Linked DNA regions of Homo sapiens: region 2 is linked to region 1. Evidence: promoter capture Hi-C in human tissues and cell types (Jung and others, 2019). All regions are on one chromosome and are shown on one strand. Each heading gives the region's core, a stretch centred on a gene start or on the middle of the fragment in contact. The rest is flanking DNA. Distances are from core to core; before and after follow the strand shown. Region 1 holds the start of CA11 (carbonic anhydrase 11). Region 2 holds the start of SNRNP70 (small nuclear ribonucleoprotein U1 subunit 70).

Region 1 (7,722 bases), core at 2,690-5,189:
CAGCACTTCGGGAAGCTGAGGTGGGCAGATCACCAGAGGTCAGGAGTTTGAGACCAGCCTGGCCAACATGGTGAAACCCCATCTCTACTAAAAATACAAAAACCAGCTGGGTGTGGCGGTGGGCGCCTGTAATCCCAGCTACTTGGGAGGCTGAGGCAGGAGAATCGCTTGATCCTAGGAGGCGGAGGTTGCAGTGATCTGAGATCATTCCATTACACTCCAGCCTGGGCGACAGAGCGAGACTCCGACTCAAAAAATAAAATAAAATAAAAATAAATAAACTGCATATATATAACACATTTGCCAGAATGCCAAACATATAGTAAGTGCTATGTAAATGTTTGCTGTTATTACATATCCTAATAGGAGGATTTTGAGCAGGAGTGATATGATCTTATTTGTGTTTTAAACATCTCTCTAGCTGTGGGGTGAATAGATTGCAGGAAGTTGAGAGGCAGGCCAGTGAGGAGGGTACGCCACCAGTCCAGGTGGGAGATGATGGTGCCTACATGAGACTGGGGGCAGTAGAGGGCGTGATAGGTGAAAGGATTTGAATAATATTTAGCAGCAAGGCTAGAAAGAACATGGATTGGAAATGGACATGAGGGAGAGAGGATAGGATGGGGAATGGCTTTGAGGCTTTTGGCTGGGGCAGCTAAATGAAAGGCAGTGCCGGCTCTTATAAGAAATGGTATTGGCCAGGCGCGGTGGATCACAGCTGTAATTCCAGTACCTTGGGAAGCCAAGGCAAGGAGGATCACTTGAACCCAGGAGTTCGACATCAGCCTGGACAACATAGTGAGACCCCACCTCTACAAAAAACTTAAAAAGTTAGCCAAGCATACTGGCATGTGCCTGCAGTCCTGGCTTCTTCCTTCCTTTCCTTCCTTCCCTTCCTTCCTTCCTTCTCTCTTTCTCTCTTTCTTTCTCGCTCTCTCTCTTTCTTTTCTCTCCCTCTCTCTCTGTATTTATTTCTTTCTGAGATGGAGTCTTGTTCTGTCACCCAGGCTGGAGTCCAGTGGCGTGATGTCAGCTCACTGCAACCTCCGCCTCCCGGGTTCAAGCAATTCTCCTGCCTCAGCCTCTCAAGTAGCTGGGATTACAGGCACATGCCACCACACCCGGCTAATTTTTGTATTTTTAGTAGAGATGGGGTTTCACCATGTTGGCCAGGCTGATCTCGAACTCCTAACCTCGTGATCCACCCACCTCGGCCTCCCGAAGTGCTGGGGTTACAGGCATGAACCACCACACCCAGGCATGTCCTAGCTATTTTTGAGGCTGAGGTAGGAAGATCACTTGGGCCCAGGAATTTGAGGTTACAGTGAGCTATGACTGGGCCACTGCACTCCAGCCTGGGTCACAGAGTGAGATCCCAATTCCAAAAAAAAAAAAAAAAAGTATGGTTCCCAGCATGGTACTATAAAGCAGGTCCCAGCATTCATGCTACGCTGCTTGGTTTGAATGCCAGTGCTGGCTCTCTGTGTGATCCTAGGCAAGTAACTTAACCTCTGTGTGTCAGTTTCTGCATGTATATAATAAGGTTAATAATTGTACCCATTTTGGCTGGACGCAGTGGCTCATGCCTGTAATCCTAGCACTTTGGGAGGCCGAGGCAGGTGGATCACCTGAGGTCAGGAGTTCAAGACCAGCCTGACCAAAATGGAGAAAACCCATCTCTGCTAAAAATACAAAAAATTAGCTGGGCGTGATGGTGCGCATGCCTGTAATCCCAACTACTCGGGAGGCTGGGGCAGGAGAATCGCTTGAACCTGGGAGGTGGAGGTTGCAGTGAGCTGAGATCACATCATTGCACTCCAGCCTGGGCAACAAGAGCAAAACTCCATCTCAAAATAATAATAATAATAATAACAATAATAATAATTGTACCCATTTTGTGGGGTGGTTATGAGATGAGAGGCTTATCAAGGTTTTAAATCTGCCTGGCACAGGAAATGTTCTGCTTTTCATTGCTTCTGCAGAGATGGGGAGACTAGGGGACCATGCTTGGGATGGGAAGAATGGGTGATCCATTTTACAGTGTAAGCAGCCTCCTCTCCACCCACTGGGTGTCCCCTCCTCCCCCAAGGCTGCTCTCCTACCTCAGCACCCCATTCCCCAGCCTCTATTCATGCCCATCCCCAGTGGGTTCAATAGCTCCTCCCTCCAAGCCCCTTACCTTCTCTCCTCCAGTGCTGAGCCTTAATGGGGGCAGAAAGGGGTCATAAAGAACCCTCTTCAGCTCCACATCCACGGGGCTCTGCCGCTTCCCCACAGCACACAGACTCCACGCTGCATTCACCAGGCCCCAGAAAGGAGGCCCTGGGGGTGGGGTCGGAGTAGGAGGACAAGGAGTCAGAAATAGAGACTGGATCCCAGGGCTGGTATCTGCTGAGTGGGCTGTGGTCTGGACTCCCAGATCCCAGGGGAGGAGGGGCTAGGGACCTAGACTCCTGGGTCTGAGGGAGGACTGGGCTCAGATCCAGAATTCTGGGTCCTAGAAGAATCTTGGAATAGTTTCCAAGTTTAGCAGAGACGGGTTTCACCAAGTTGGCCAGGCTGGTCTTGAACTCCTGACCACAGGTAATCCACCCACCTCGGCCTCCTAAAGTGCTGGGATTTCAAGCGTGAGCCACCGCGCCCAGCCGATCAAACCCATCTTAAGCCACTGTAGATGGAACTACAACTCCCAGCAGGCCCCAGTGCTACCAGCCTACCCCTCTGCTGCCTACCTGCCCCAGAGCCCCGTGGGAGTTGTAGTTCTTTTTTTTAATCGCTCTTATCCCACAGCTGGATTATTATTAATGTGTTGGGGAGAGGAGCTGCAAGAGAAGGCTGGACAAGGTGGGGGACGGGGCCACCCAGCCTCTGGTTCCTAGCAGGAGCCAGGACCTTCCTCTCCCGGCAAACACACACATAATCTCCACCCCCACACTTTCCTTCCACTCACTCCCACTCACTACTTGAAATGCGCATGTATAATGTCCCATGGTGAGCCCCTGGGGTTCAGAAGCTGGCCCGACTCCTGAGGGACAGAGGAGGGGGCTGGGACTCCTGGTCCTGGGGGGGAGGAGGGAGCTGGGAACCCAGGTTCCTGAGTCTGAAGAAGGAGGCGCCGGGAGGGCCGGACTCCTGGGTCCCCGCCTTGGCGGCACCTGGCACGAAGTTTCCCTGGAGATTATCCTTGTAGCTCCACCAGTCCTCGGGGTCAGGTGCTGGTCCGATGTGAGCTGGGAAGAGAGCAGCCTGAATCCCTCTCCTTGGCATCCCCACCTCCACCCTCCCTCGGGGGCTCCTCCCGGGAACCCCAGGTCTTACCTGCTGCCCCCAGTGCAGCCCAGAGTACCAGCGCTCGAGGGGCGCTCAGACGAGCTGCAGCCCCCATCCCCAGGAGGCCTCCGAGGGACCCCTGCCCAACGCCCTGCCCCCCTCTCTCAGCTCCTCTGTCCCCTCCTTCTGGGACCCTGTCCCTCCAGGACTTCCAGCTTTCCTCTCCTCCCCACAGGGAGTCCCAGTTCCCCAAATGCCAAAGCAGCCAGGGACTGAGATCCGCCCTTCAAACCCACTCTTCTTCTCTCTCCCGTCTCTCTGTGTCTTTCCTCTTTCCTCTGCTCTTTTCCCGGAACCCTCCAGTCTCCCTCTAGCTCCTGATCTTCCTACTCCTCTCAGCCTTCTGCTGCCCCCAGGGCTACCTCTTGGTTCCTAACCCACACCTCCTCTCCGTTCTCTTTTCATTAAGCTCTCCCAAGCCACCTAACTCCAGGTCTCCATCCCGCATCTCCTCCTCCTCCTCCCTCTCTCCTTTCCAGCTCCTGCCTCTTCTCCCCTCTCTCCTTCTTCACCTCCTCCCGCCCTCCCTCAGTGTCGGCCTCCAGCTTCGTGCTCTCCCCACCTCCTCCTCTCCTGCCTCTTCTCCCTGTTTCAGTCTCTCTTCTCTCTTGTCCCTTCCTCCCTCCTCCCCCTCCCTCTCTCCTCTCCCGTGGTGTTATTTAATTTTGTTGTTGGGCTGGGGGAGCAGGTGATCTCATAGCGGCAAACACTCCTCGGGTTGGCTTGGGGTGGGATGTGCGAAAGGGCAGGATTCGGAAGGAGGTAGGGGGCTGGTCCTCGGCTCCCAGCCGCGCTGGGGCCACGCGGGCGGGGGTGGCCGGGACACCTGGGGCCGGGAGCAGGCTGTTTCCATCCTCCGCAGCAAGGGGAAGGGGGGGCGCTTAAGGTGGAGCTGGGAGTGGCTTCGGAAGTCTCCATGCTGGGGGCCGCCGGCCTTGGCGGATGCAGGGTCCCCCTGCTCGCTGGGACCCAGGTTGGAGCCGCCCCAGCGCCCGCAGCCCCCCTTCCCCGCCCCAGGGCTCCACTGGGTCTCTGCCTGGGGCTGCCTTAACGGGGCCGGGGGATCCCCTAGGAGCCTGAAGTGCAGTGAGGGCTGCTCGCCTGGAGGGGGAGGCAGAGACCTGGCGAGGGAGAGAGGGGCGGGGAGGAGGAGCCGGGAGGGCAGAGGCGGAGAGCGGGAGGTGAGGACCCACATCTGCGTAGGCTGGGGAGGGGAAGGGAGCCTGAGATGGATACGGAGAGGAAGGGCGGAGGGACAGAAGGTTAGAGAGGCAAGAACAAACCGCCAGGCAGGAGTGAGGAGGAGGGGGAGGAGGTGAAGGAGGAGGGGGAGGAGGGAGAGGAGGGGGAGGGAGAGGAGGGGGAGGAGGGAGAGGAGGAGGGGGAGGGAGAGAGGAAGGAATGAATGAGAGAGATACAGATAGAGGCAGAAAAGGAGATACAGAGACGCAGCGAGACAGACATGGAGACATAGAGACACACACTTAGAGATAGACAGAAACTCAGAGACCAAGCAGCAGATGGGGTGGGGAGAGACAAAAAGAGAGAAAGAGCGATCCAAAGACAGAGAGAGACACCACATTTTTGTATTTGGGGAGAAGAGATGGGGTCATGCTATGTTGCTCAGGCTAGTCTCAAACTCCTGTCCTCAAGGGATCCTCCCACCTTGGCCTCCCAAAGCATTGAGATTACAGGCATGAACAACCATACCCAGCCTCAGAGAGACCACATATTACTGTTGTTGTTGTTATTTATTATTTTTCACCCCGTCTAATGGTAGTGAAACTGCTCATTGTCTTCTTTTATTTTCTTTTTTGAGACAAGCCTTGCAATGTCACCCAGGCTGGAGAGCAGTGGTGCGATCATGGCTTGATCCAGCCTCGACCTCCTGGGCTTAAACACTCCTTCCACCTCAGCCTCCCAAATAGTTGGGACTACAGGCACATGCCACCATGCCAGGCTAATTTTTAAAAATTATTTTTTGTAGAGATGTAGTCTTGCTATGATGCCCAGGCTGGTCCGGAACCCCTGGGCTCAAGGGATCCTCCTGCCTTGGCCTCCCAAAGTGCTGGGATTACAGGTGTGAGCCACCTTGTCCAGCCTGACACCAAACATTAACGAGACAGAGAGACATAGAAAGAGACACACATACATCAGTACAGGTGGAGAGAGACACAGAGAGGGAGAGACATAGAAACACACACACAGACTGAGCATGGTGGCTCACACCTGTAATCCCAGAACTCTGGGAGGTCAAGGTGGATGGATCACTTGAGGCCAGGAGACTGAGACCAGCCCGGCCAACATGGCCAAATGCCATCTCTACTAAATACATAAAAACTTAGCCAGGCATGGTGGCTCACGCCTGTAATCCCAGCACTTAGGGTGGTCGAGGTGGGTGGATCACCTGAGGTCAGGAGTTCAAGACCAGCCTGACCAAAATGGTGCAACCCCGTTTCTACTAAAAAATACAAAAACTAGCTGAGCGTGGTGGCACACACCTATAATCCCGGCTACTCAGGAGGCTGAGACAGGAGAATCGCTTGAACCGGGTAGGTGGAGGCTACAGTGAGCCGAGATCCCAACAGTGCACTCCAGCCTGGGCAACAGAGTGAGACTCCATCTCAAAAAAAAAAAAAAAAAGAAAGAAAGAAAGAAACACACACACAGAGCTAGAGACAGAGACCTGGGAACAGGCACACACACATCTATAAATAGAGACACTCGTGCAGAGAAAGAGACATCAACAGAGAGGAACAGATGGACAGAGATAGAGAGACCCAGATAGAGGGAGAGAGGACCAGAAGCAGACCAACTGACATGATGGGAGAGACTACAAAGGAATCAGAAAGACAGAGGTATTCAGAGATAGCAAATTGGGATGGACATTCAAAGACCTAGAGATGGAGAGAGACACCCAGAAAGAAACCCAGAGAGTCAGGGGTGGAGAGAGACACGAAGAAAAAACACAAGAAGGAAAGGTACATACTAATAATTTATTGCTGGCGGGGCTTGGTGGTTCATGCCTGTAATCCCAGCACTTTGGGAGGCTGAGGAGGGAGGATCACTTGAGATCAAGAGTTTGAGACCAGCCTGGGCAACATAGTAAGACCTCGTCTCTATTTTTTATGAAAAAGAAAAAAACAGGCCGGGCACAGTGGCTCACACCTGTAATCCTAGCACTTTGGGAAGCTGAAGCGGGCGGATCACGAGGTCAGGAGATTGAGACCACGGTGAAACCCCATCTCTACTAAAAATACAAAAAATTAGCCGGGCGCGGTGGCGGGCGCCTGTAGTCCCAGCTCCTCGGGAGGCTGAGGCAGGAGAATGGCGTGAACCCGGGAGGTGGAGCTTGCAGTGAGCTGAGATCACGCCACTGCACTCCAGCCTGGGCGACAGAGCGAGACTCCGTCTCAAAAAAAAAAAAAAAAAAGAAAAAAGAAAAAGAAAAAAATAGTTGGGGAACGGCAGCTCACGCCTGTAATTCCAGCACTTTGGGAGGCCGAGGAAGGCAGATCACTTGAGGTCAGGAGTTTGAGACCAGCCTGACCAACGTGGTGAAACCCCGTCTTTACCAAAAATACAAAAATTAGGCTGGGCGCAGTGGCTCACGCCTGTAATCCCAGCACTTTGGGAGGCCAAGGCGGGCGGATCACAAGGTCAGGATTTCGAGACTGGCCTCACCAGCATGGTGAAACCGTGTCTCTGCTAAAAATACAAAAATTAGCTGGGCATGGTGGCACACGCCGAGATTGCGCCACTGCACTCCAGCCTGGGCGACAGAGTGAGACTCTGTCTCAAAAAAAAAAAAAAAACAAAAACAAAAATTAGCCGGGTGTGGTGACGCATGCCTCTAGTCCCAGCTGCTCGGGAGGATGAGGCATGAGAATCACTTGAACTCAGGAAGTGGAGGTTGCAGTGAGCCGAGATCACACCAGTGCCCTCCAGCCTGGGCAAAGAGTGAGACTGTCTCAAAAACAACGACAAAACAAAACAAAACAACGACAAAAAAATCTGTTGTTGTGTGACAAATTACCCTAAAACTCAGTGGCTTAAAACAACAAACATTTATTGTGTTCACAGTTCCTGAGGGCCAGGAATGTGGGAATGGCTTCATTGGGTGGTTCTGGATCCTTCTTGAGGGTGCAGTGAAACTGTTGGACAGGGCTGCAGTCATCTCAAGTCTTTTATGACCTAGTCTCCCAAAGTCACACACCTTTTATTCCACGCATCAGAAATGAGTCACTAGATCTAGCCTACACTCAAAAGGAAAGACGTTAGGATCCTCTGCTCTTGGGCCGGGAGCGGTGGCTCACGCCTGTAATCCCAGCACTTTGGGAGGCCGAGGAAGGCAGATCACTTGAGATCAGGAGTTCAAGAGCAGCCTGGCCA
Region 2 (7,722 bases), core at 3,471-5,970, 440 kb after region 1:
TTGTTGTTGTTTTTGACGTAGTTTGGCTCTTGTTGCCCAGGCTGGAGTACAATGGCGCGATCTTGGCGATTCTCCTGCCTCAGCCTCCTGAGCAGCTGGGATTACAGGTGTGTGCCACCACACCTGGCTGATTTTTGTATTTTTAGTAGAGATAGGGTTTCACTGTGTTGGCCAGGCTGGTCTTGAACTCCTGATCTCAGGTGATCCACCCACCTCGGCCTTCCAAAGTGCTGGGATTACAGGCGTAAGCCACCGTGCCTGGCAAGTTTTCATTCTTAAAAAGGGATGTTCTGGACCAGGTGCGGTGGCTCACGCCTGTAATCCCAGCACTTTGGGAGGCCAAGACAGGCGGATCACGAGGTCAGGAGATCAAGACCATCTTGGCTAACACAGTGAAGCCCCGTCTCTACTAAAAATACAAAAAATTAGCCGAGTGTGGTGGCAGGCGCCTGTAGTCCCAGCTACCCAGGAGGCTGTGGCAGGAGAATGACATGAACCTGGGAGGCGGAGCTTGCAGTGAATCGAGATTGCGCCACTGCACTCCAGCCTGGGTGGCAGAGCAAGACTCTGTCTTAAATAAATAAATAAATAAAGAGAGGCAGCCAGGCTCTGTGGCACATGCCTGTAGTCCCAGCTACTTGGAGGCTGAGGCAGAAGGATTGTTTGAGCCCAGGAAGTTCTGGGCTGTAGTGTGTTATGCTGATTAGGTGTCCATACTAAGTTTGGCTTCAATATGGTAACCTCCCATGCGTGGGAGACTACCAGGTTGCCTAGCAGGGGTTGAACTGACCTAGGCTGGAAATGGATCAGGTCAAAACTCCCATGTTGATCAGGAGTGGGATCATGCCTATGAATAGCCACTGCACATGAGCCTGAGTGACACAGTGAGACCCTGTCTCTGAAAAATCAATCAATAAATAGGAAGCACAGCATAAAAGTTTAGAAAAGTCACAACCTGGCAATGTGGTAGAGAAGGGAAGAGCATTTTTTAGGAGAGAAATAGAAGCAGGCTGTATTGCCTTGCTGGAGAGGTTGCGTGACTAAAAGGAAGCCAAGTGCTAACATCCAAGACAATGGGAAAAAGGCCTTGAAGGCATTTCAGGAGTCTTCAAAACAGCCTCCCCCATCACAGGCTCTGAGGCATATAAGGAAAGAGTGGTTTACTGGGCCAGATCCAGGGCCCTGTCTCCTGCTCAGCCTGGGGACACTGCTCCCCTGCATCCCTGCTGTTCGATCACCAGCCATGACACACAGGGTCCCAAGTACAGCTTGGGCCACCACTCCAGAGGGTGCAAGCCATAAACTTTGGCAGCTTTCATGTGGGATTAAGCCTGCAGGTGCACAGAATGCAAGAGTGAAGGAAGCTTAGCAGCTCCCACCTGGATTTCAGAGGATGTGTAGGAAAGCCTGGGTGTCCAGGCAGAAGTCGGCTGCATGGTTGGAGTCCCTACAGAGAGCCTCTACTAGGACAGTGCCAAGGGGGAAAGGTGGGGTTGGAGGCCTAACATAGAGTCCCCACCAGGGCGCTGCCTAGTGGAGCTGTGAGAAGGGGACCCCTCCTCTCTAGATCCCAGAGTGACAGGTCTGCCAGCAGATTGCACCCTGAGCCTACAACAGCTGCAGGCACTAAACTCCAACCTGTGTGAGGAGACATTGGGGCTGGACTTTGCTGCCCAAGACTTTGGGAGCCCACTCCTTGCACCAGTGTGCCTTGGATGCAGAACATGGAATCAGGGATTATTTTGGAGCTTTAAAGTTTTTTTTTGTTTTTGTTTTTGTTTTGAGACAGAGTCTTTCTCTGTTGCTCAGGCTGGAGTGTAGTGGTGCAATCTTGGCTCACGACAACCTTCGCCTCCCGAGTTCAAGCAATTCTTCTGTCTCAGCCTCCTGAGTAGCTGGGATTACAGGCACCTGCCACCACACCTGGCTAATTTTTGTATTTTTAGTAGAGATGAGGTTTCACCATCTTGGCCAGGCTGGTCTTGAACTCCTGACCTCGTGATCCATCCACCTCGGCCTCCCAAAGTGCTGAGATGACAGGTGTGAGCCACTGTGCCAGGCTAGAGCTTTAAAGTTTAATGTCTTCTCTGCTGTGTTTCAGACTTCTGTTAAGCCTATTGTCCCTTTCCTTTGGCAGATTTCTCCCTTTTATTTTATTATTATTATTATTTTATTTTTATTGTTGTTGTTTTGAGACAAAGTCTCGCTCTGTTGCCACGCTGGAGTATAGTGGCACGATCCTGGCTCACCGCAACCTCTGCTTCCTGGGTTCAAGCAATTCTCCTGCCTCAGCCTCCCAAGTAGCTGGGACAACAGGCACGTGCCACCATACCCAGCTAATTTTTGTATTTTTAGTAGAGACAGGGTTTCACCATGTTGGCCAGGATGGTCTCGATCTCTTGACCTCATGATCTGCCTGCCTCAGCCTCCCAAAGTGCCAGGATTACAGGTGTGAGCCACCGTGCCCAGCCATCATTATTATTTTTTGAGATAGAGTCTTGCTCTGTCCAGGCTGGAGTGCAGTTGCACAGTCTCAGCTCACTGCAACCTCCACCTCCCAGATTCAAGCGATTCTCCTGCCTTAGCCTTCAAAGTAGCTGGGATTACAGGTGCATGCCACCATGTCCAGCTAATTTTTGTATTTTTAGTAGAGAAGGGGTTTCGCCATGTTGCCCAGGCTGGTCTTGAACTCCTGATCTCAGGGATCCTCCTACCTTGGCCTCCCAAAGTGCTGGGATTACAGGTGTGAGCCACCACACCCGGCCTATTTTATTTGTTTTTTTGAGACAGATTCTCACTCTGTTGCCCAGGCTGGAGTGCAGTCGTGCAATCTCTGCCTCCCGGGTTCAAGCAATTCTCCTGCCTCAGCTTCCCAGGTAGCTGGAATTACAGGTGCGTGCCACCACTCCCAGCTAATTTTTGTATTTTTAGTAGAGATGGGATTTCACCATGTTGGCCAGGCTGGTCTCGAACTCCTGACCTCAGGTGATCCGCCCACCTCGGCCTCCCAAAGTGCTGGGATTACAGGTGTGAGCCACCACACCCAGCCCTTTTCTTTCTTTTTTTTTTTTTTTTTTTGAGACGGAGTCTCGCTCTGTCGCCCAGGCTGGAGTCTAGTGGCACAATCTTGGCTCACTGCAGCCTCAACTTTCTCGGCTCAAACGATCCTCCCACTTCTTTTTTTTATTTGAGACGGAGTTTTGCTCTTGTCTCCCAGGCTGGAGTGCAATGGTGCCATCTTGGCTCACCACAACCTCTGCCTCCCAGGTTCAAGTGATTCTCCTGCCTCAGCCTCTCAAGTAGCTGGGATTATAGGCATGTGCCACCATGCCCAGCTAATTTTGTATTTTTAGTAGAGACGGGGTTTCTCCATGTTGATCAGTCTGGTCTCGAACTATTGACCTCAGGTGATCTGCCCGCCTTGGCCTCCCAAAGTGCTGGGATTACAGGCGTGAGCACTGCACTCGGCCTTTTTCTTGAAACATAAAATTAGTCATTTTAATTTGCAATAATTTCTGTAGTTATTAAACAGGCTATTGAATCCATCCACAAAACTTAAGATACAATACTTAAGAACAGGGCTCTAAATAACAAGTGCCAGCTCTCTGATCTCATGGCCAACAACCTGAGATTCCTGCCATCTGGTCTCAGTTCAGGACCTTTGCACTTACTGTTAAACACCGCCCCCCCGGCCCCACCCCAGATCTCGCTTCTATCTGTCCTTTATTCAAATGTTACCTCTTCAGAGGGGCCTTCCATTATCACCCTTTCTAAAACAGCCTCGCTCTCACTTCCCATCCCTTTATTCTGCTCCATCGTTCTTCATTATGCTGGCCACTATCTCAAATTATCTTTTATTATTTATTTATTTATTTACTTTTGAGACGGAGTCGCTCTGTCGCCCAGGCTGGAGTGCAATGGCACGACCTCGGCTCACTGCAACCTCCGCCTCCCGAGTTCAAGCGATTCTCCCGCCTCAGCCTCCAGAGTAACCGGGCTTACAGGCGCGCACGGCCACGCCCGGCTAATTTTTGTATTTTTAGTAGAGACGGGCTTTCACCATGTTGGTCAGGTTGGTCTCACACTCCTGACCTCAGGTGATCTGCCCGCCTCAGCCTCCCAAAAGTTCTGGGATTACAGGCGTGATCCACCGCGCCTGGCCTCAAATTATCTTTATTCAGTTAAATGCTTTTATTGTCTCTCCCAGTACAATGTAAGCCCTAGCAGCAGAAGACTTTGCTTTAATCACGTGCTGTACCCCCAAAGCCCAGACAGTGCCTAGCACACACGAGATGCTCGATGAATAGTTATTGATTGAATAGATTAGACATCAACGCAATCAGGCTGTTCACCTAGGGACTCTTTGCTAGGCGGCGGAGAGGTACGTTACAGTTCTCTACGCAAAACGCATGCGCGAAAGATCCGGGAAGTGTGATCGGAAAGGGGCGGAGCATCAGGGAGAGTCTCGCGGACATAGGCGGTTCGGCGCGGAAAGCGGGAGGTGGAGGGGCGGCTTGGGGCAAGCGCGCGCGCGCAGTGCAGAAGCCAGCCCCCCGCGGCTGAGGTACTCAAGGTGCCCAAAGGCGGGGTAGTGACCTCGCGCGTGCGCTGTGCCCGCGGCAGCGCCGGGTCCTAGTGTGTGGGTTGTTGTTGGCACCGCACGGCGCGTGCGCAGTGAGGACGGCGGAGGGATTTGCGGCCGGGACCCACCCCCTGCTCCAGTCGCTATCGGAGGCCGCGCGGGTGGCTGAGCAGCGGCCTGGTGCGCTCGCTTAGCGGGCGACGGAATCAGACGGACGTGGACGCCCCCGGAGTGGAAGCCGAAGCAGGAGTTGTTGTTGCTGAGGGGCTGCCGCAGCCGCCGCGAGCCTCCGGACAGACGCCAGAGCGAGGAGGGCGCTACGCGGTGAGTGAGTGTGACTGAGTGGCCCGACGGGGTGCGGGGCCGCTACCCAGAAGCCCCAGCGGTGGGCCCGGTCCTCTTCCCCGCGGCCAGGCCCCTTTCCCGCGTCCCCGCCACAGGTCCCTTCTGCATCCCTTTCCCGGACCCCGAAATCTCTGGGCACCCACGCCCGCTTCCCACAGCGCCCTCGTGGTTCCCTACCCACAGGCCCTTGCGGTGTGTGGCCTTTTTTCTTTTTCGTTTGTCTATGTTGTCCTGGACCCTTACCCATAATTCCTTTCGCTTTTTGCGGGGTCCAGGTCTGTTACCCACAAGCACTTGGTTTTGGGGCTTCGCTCCTTATGTTTCTCTTTCTTTGCTTGGAAACTTCCGATCCCCAGGACCCTGCAAACTGCATCTCGTAATTTGCCCTCCACGGCACGGGACGAGCAGCCACAGCTGCTCTGGGCCTCCCTCCTCGGGTCCTTGATTTCCCCAGAAATTCCCAGGGAACCTCTCCGCCCCACAGCTCGTGTCAGAGGACTCTGAGACTTCACTCTTCAGGAACCCTTTTCCAGCCGTTATTTTTGTTTTCTTTACCGGCCTTTCACCTCCACCCCCACCAAGACGTACCCTTTTCTCCGCAACACAGGACTGTTCTCTGCCCTTACAGAGCCTGTTTTAATTCCGAGACTTTTCTCCTGTCTTTCTTATTTTGAGAGTCAAGGAGTAACAGGGGCTTTCTCTGTGCAGACCCGATCTAACCTAAGGCTGTCCTGCTTCTGCTCTCAGACTTGGCAAGATGACCCAGTTCCTGCCGCCCAACCTTCTGGCCCTCTTTGCCCCCCGTGACCCTATTCCATACCTGCCACCCCTGGAGAAACTGCCACATGAAAAACACCACAATCAACCTTATTGTGGCATTGCGCCGTACATTCGAGAGTTTGAGGTGAGTTCACTGAGCAGGCCAGGAATGGTTTGGGTTCTGGGGAGCAACGGGTTGGATTTGCGAGTCCAGCTTCTGGCCATTTTGCCAGCTGCGTGATTTAAGCGAGGGGCTTAACCTTTGTGATCCTCAGTTTCTCTGTTTTAAATGGGGTTGGAGCCGGGTGTCGGGTGTGGTCGAGTGCGTCTGTAGTCTCAGCTACTCAGGAGGCTGAGGTGGGAGGATTGCTTGAGCCCAGGAGTCGGAGGCTGGAGTGCTTTGTGATTGTGCCACTATACTCCGGCCTGGGTGACAGAGCAGGACTTCGTCTCTCAAAAAAAAAATTTTTTTTTTAAGTGGGGTTGTGGCCCGGTACGGTGGCTCACGCCTGTAATCCCAGTACTTTGGGAGACCGAGGCAGGCGGATCACTTGAGGTGAGGAGTTGAAGACCAGCCTGGCCAACATGGTGAAACCACGTCTCTGCTAAAAATAACAAAAATTAGCCGGACATGGTGCCTGTAATTCCAGCTACTTGGGAGGCTGAGGCACGGGAATCACTTGAACCCAGGAGGCGGAGGTTGCAATGAGCCGAGATCGCGCCACTGCACTCCATCCTGAGCAACAGAACAAGACTGTCTCAAAAAAAAAAAAAAAAAAAAAGTGGGGTTGATAGTACACCTTTTGTAGAATTTTTGTGAAAATTCAGTGAGTAGTGGTTGAGGATTCATGCCTAACCCACACCATTTATCAGCTCTGACTTTGGGCAAATGTTGTATCCTCTTAATGCATTGGTTTCTTTATCTTTAGCAAGGGGATAGTGGTAGCACCCTTATAATGTTGGTGGAGAATTAAATGGCAAACTGTATGTCAGGGGGCTTGGCACCAAGCAGTCAGCACATGTCAGCCTTTGTTACTCTGTTTACTACTTTTATTGTTAATAAGATGATGTTCATAAAGGCTTAGCACCCAGTATTGAGTATTGGAGGGCTTAAAACTGCAGATGGGGATCTTAGCTCTGCACCTTTGGGATAAATAGGAATGAATGACTTAGGCTCCTGGACCTCTGTGTTTTTATTTGTGAAATGGGATGACAAGGGTCATCTCTTAGGTGCATCAGAGCACACCTGAGAAAAGCTGGCACACAGTCGGAAGTTACAAGAAGAACGTTCTAGCATTGGGTAGGTAAGGGCAGCTGGAGGCGAGGGAGTTGCAGAGCAGAATTTCGTAGATAACAGAAAGGTATGTCTTCAGTGGGATTTGCCACCCTTGGTGAACCCGCACTTGAGAGATATTACTGGCCAATTAACTTAATGGGCACAGGCGGGTGGTAGGTGCCCTTTGATGATGCAGGTCATGTGCCAGTTACCATTTATTTATTTATGAGACAGTTTTGCTCTGTTGCCCAGGCTGGAGTGCAGTGGCGTGATTTTAGCCAACTGCAGCCTCCGGTTCAAGCAGTTCTCCTGCCTCAGCCTCTCAAGTAGCTGGGATTACAGGCATGCACCACCACGCCTGGCTAATTTTGTATTTTTAGTAGAGATGGGGTTTCACCATGTAGGCCAGGCTGGTTTCGAACCCCTAACCTCAGGTGATCCACCCCCCTTGGCCTCCCAGAGTGCTGGGATTACAGGTGTGAGCCACCATGCCTGGGAGCCAGGTACTTTTTTTTTTTTTTTTTTTTTGACTTGGAGTCTCGCTCTGTTGCCTAGGCTGGAGTGCAGTGGCGTGATCTCGGCTCACTGCAAGCTCCGCCTCCCGGGTTCATGCCATTCTCCTGCCTCAGCCTCCCGAGTAGCTGGGACTACAGGTGCCCGCCACCACGCCTGGCTAATTTTTTGTATTTTTAGAGATGGGGTTTCACCGTGTTAGCCAGGATGGTCTTGATCTCCTGACCTTGTGATCTGCCCACTTTGG

Evidence for each region. The method cuts DNA at HindIII sites, captures the fragments that hold promoters and counts their contacts. A contact is called where the count stands out against the background at its distance.
Region 2: a contact is called between the fragment with the promoter of SNRNP70 here and the fragment with the promoter of CA11 in region 1, in 1 of the 25 tissues and cell types used here (lymphoblastoid cells).

What each region holds. Positions count from the first base shown.
Region 1 is chr19:48,642,248-48,649,969 of GRCh38, forward strand. CA11 (carbonic anhydrase 11) reads right to left here and starts at 3,940. Exons shown (of 9, transcript NM_001217.5): 1 at 3,319-3,940; 2 at 3,156-3,230; 3 at 2,180-2,322. The coding sequence starts at 3,385. It also overlaps the pseudogene SEC1P. RefSeq lists enhancers at 1,868-2,569, 2,570-3,270, 3,271-3,971 and silencers at 3,929-4,118, 4,149-4,558. The HindIII fragment of the contact is 19,792 bases long and covers 1-7,722 here.
Region 2 is chr19:49,080,731-49,088,452 of GRCh38, forward strand. SNRNP70 (small nuclear ribonucleoprotein U1 subunit 70) reads left to right here and starts at 4,721. Exons shown (of 10, transcript NM_003089.6): 1 at 4,721-4,906; 2 at 5,675-5,831. The coding sequence starts at 5,685. It also overlaps the pseudogene RN7SL708P. RefSeq lists enhancers at 4,397-4,466, 4,817-4,906. The HindIII fragment of the contact is 18,802 bases long and covers 1-7,722 here.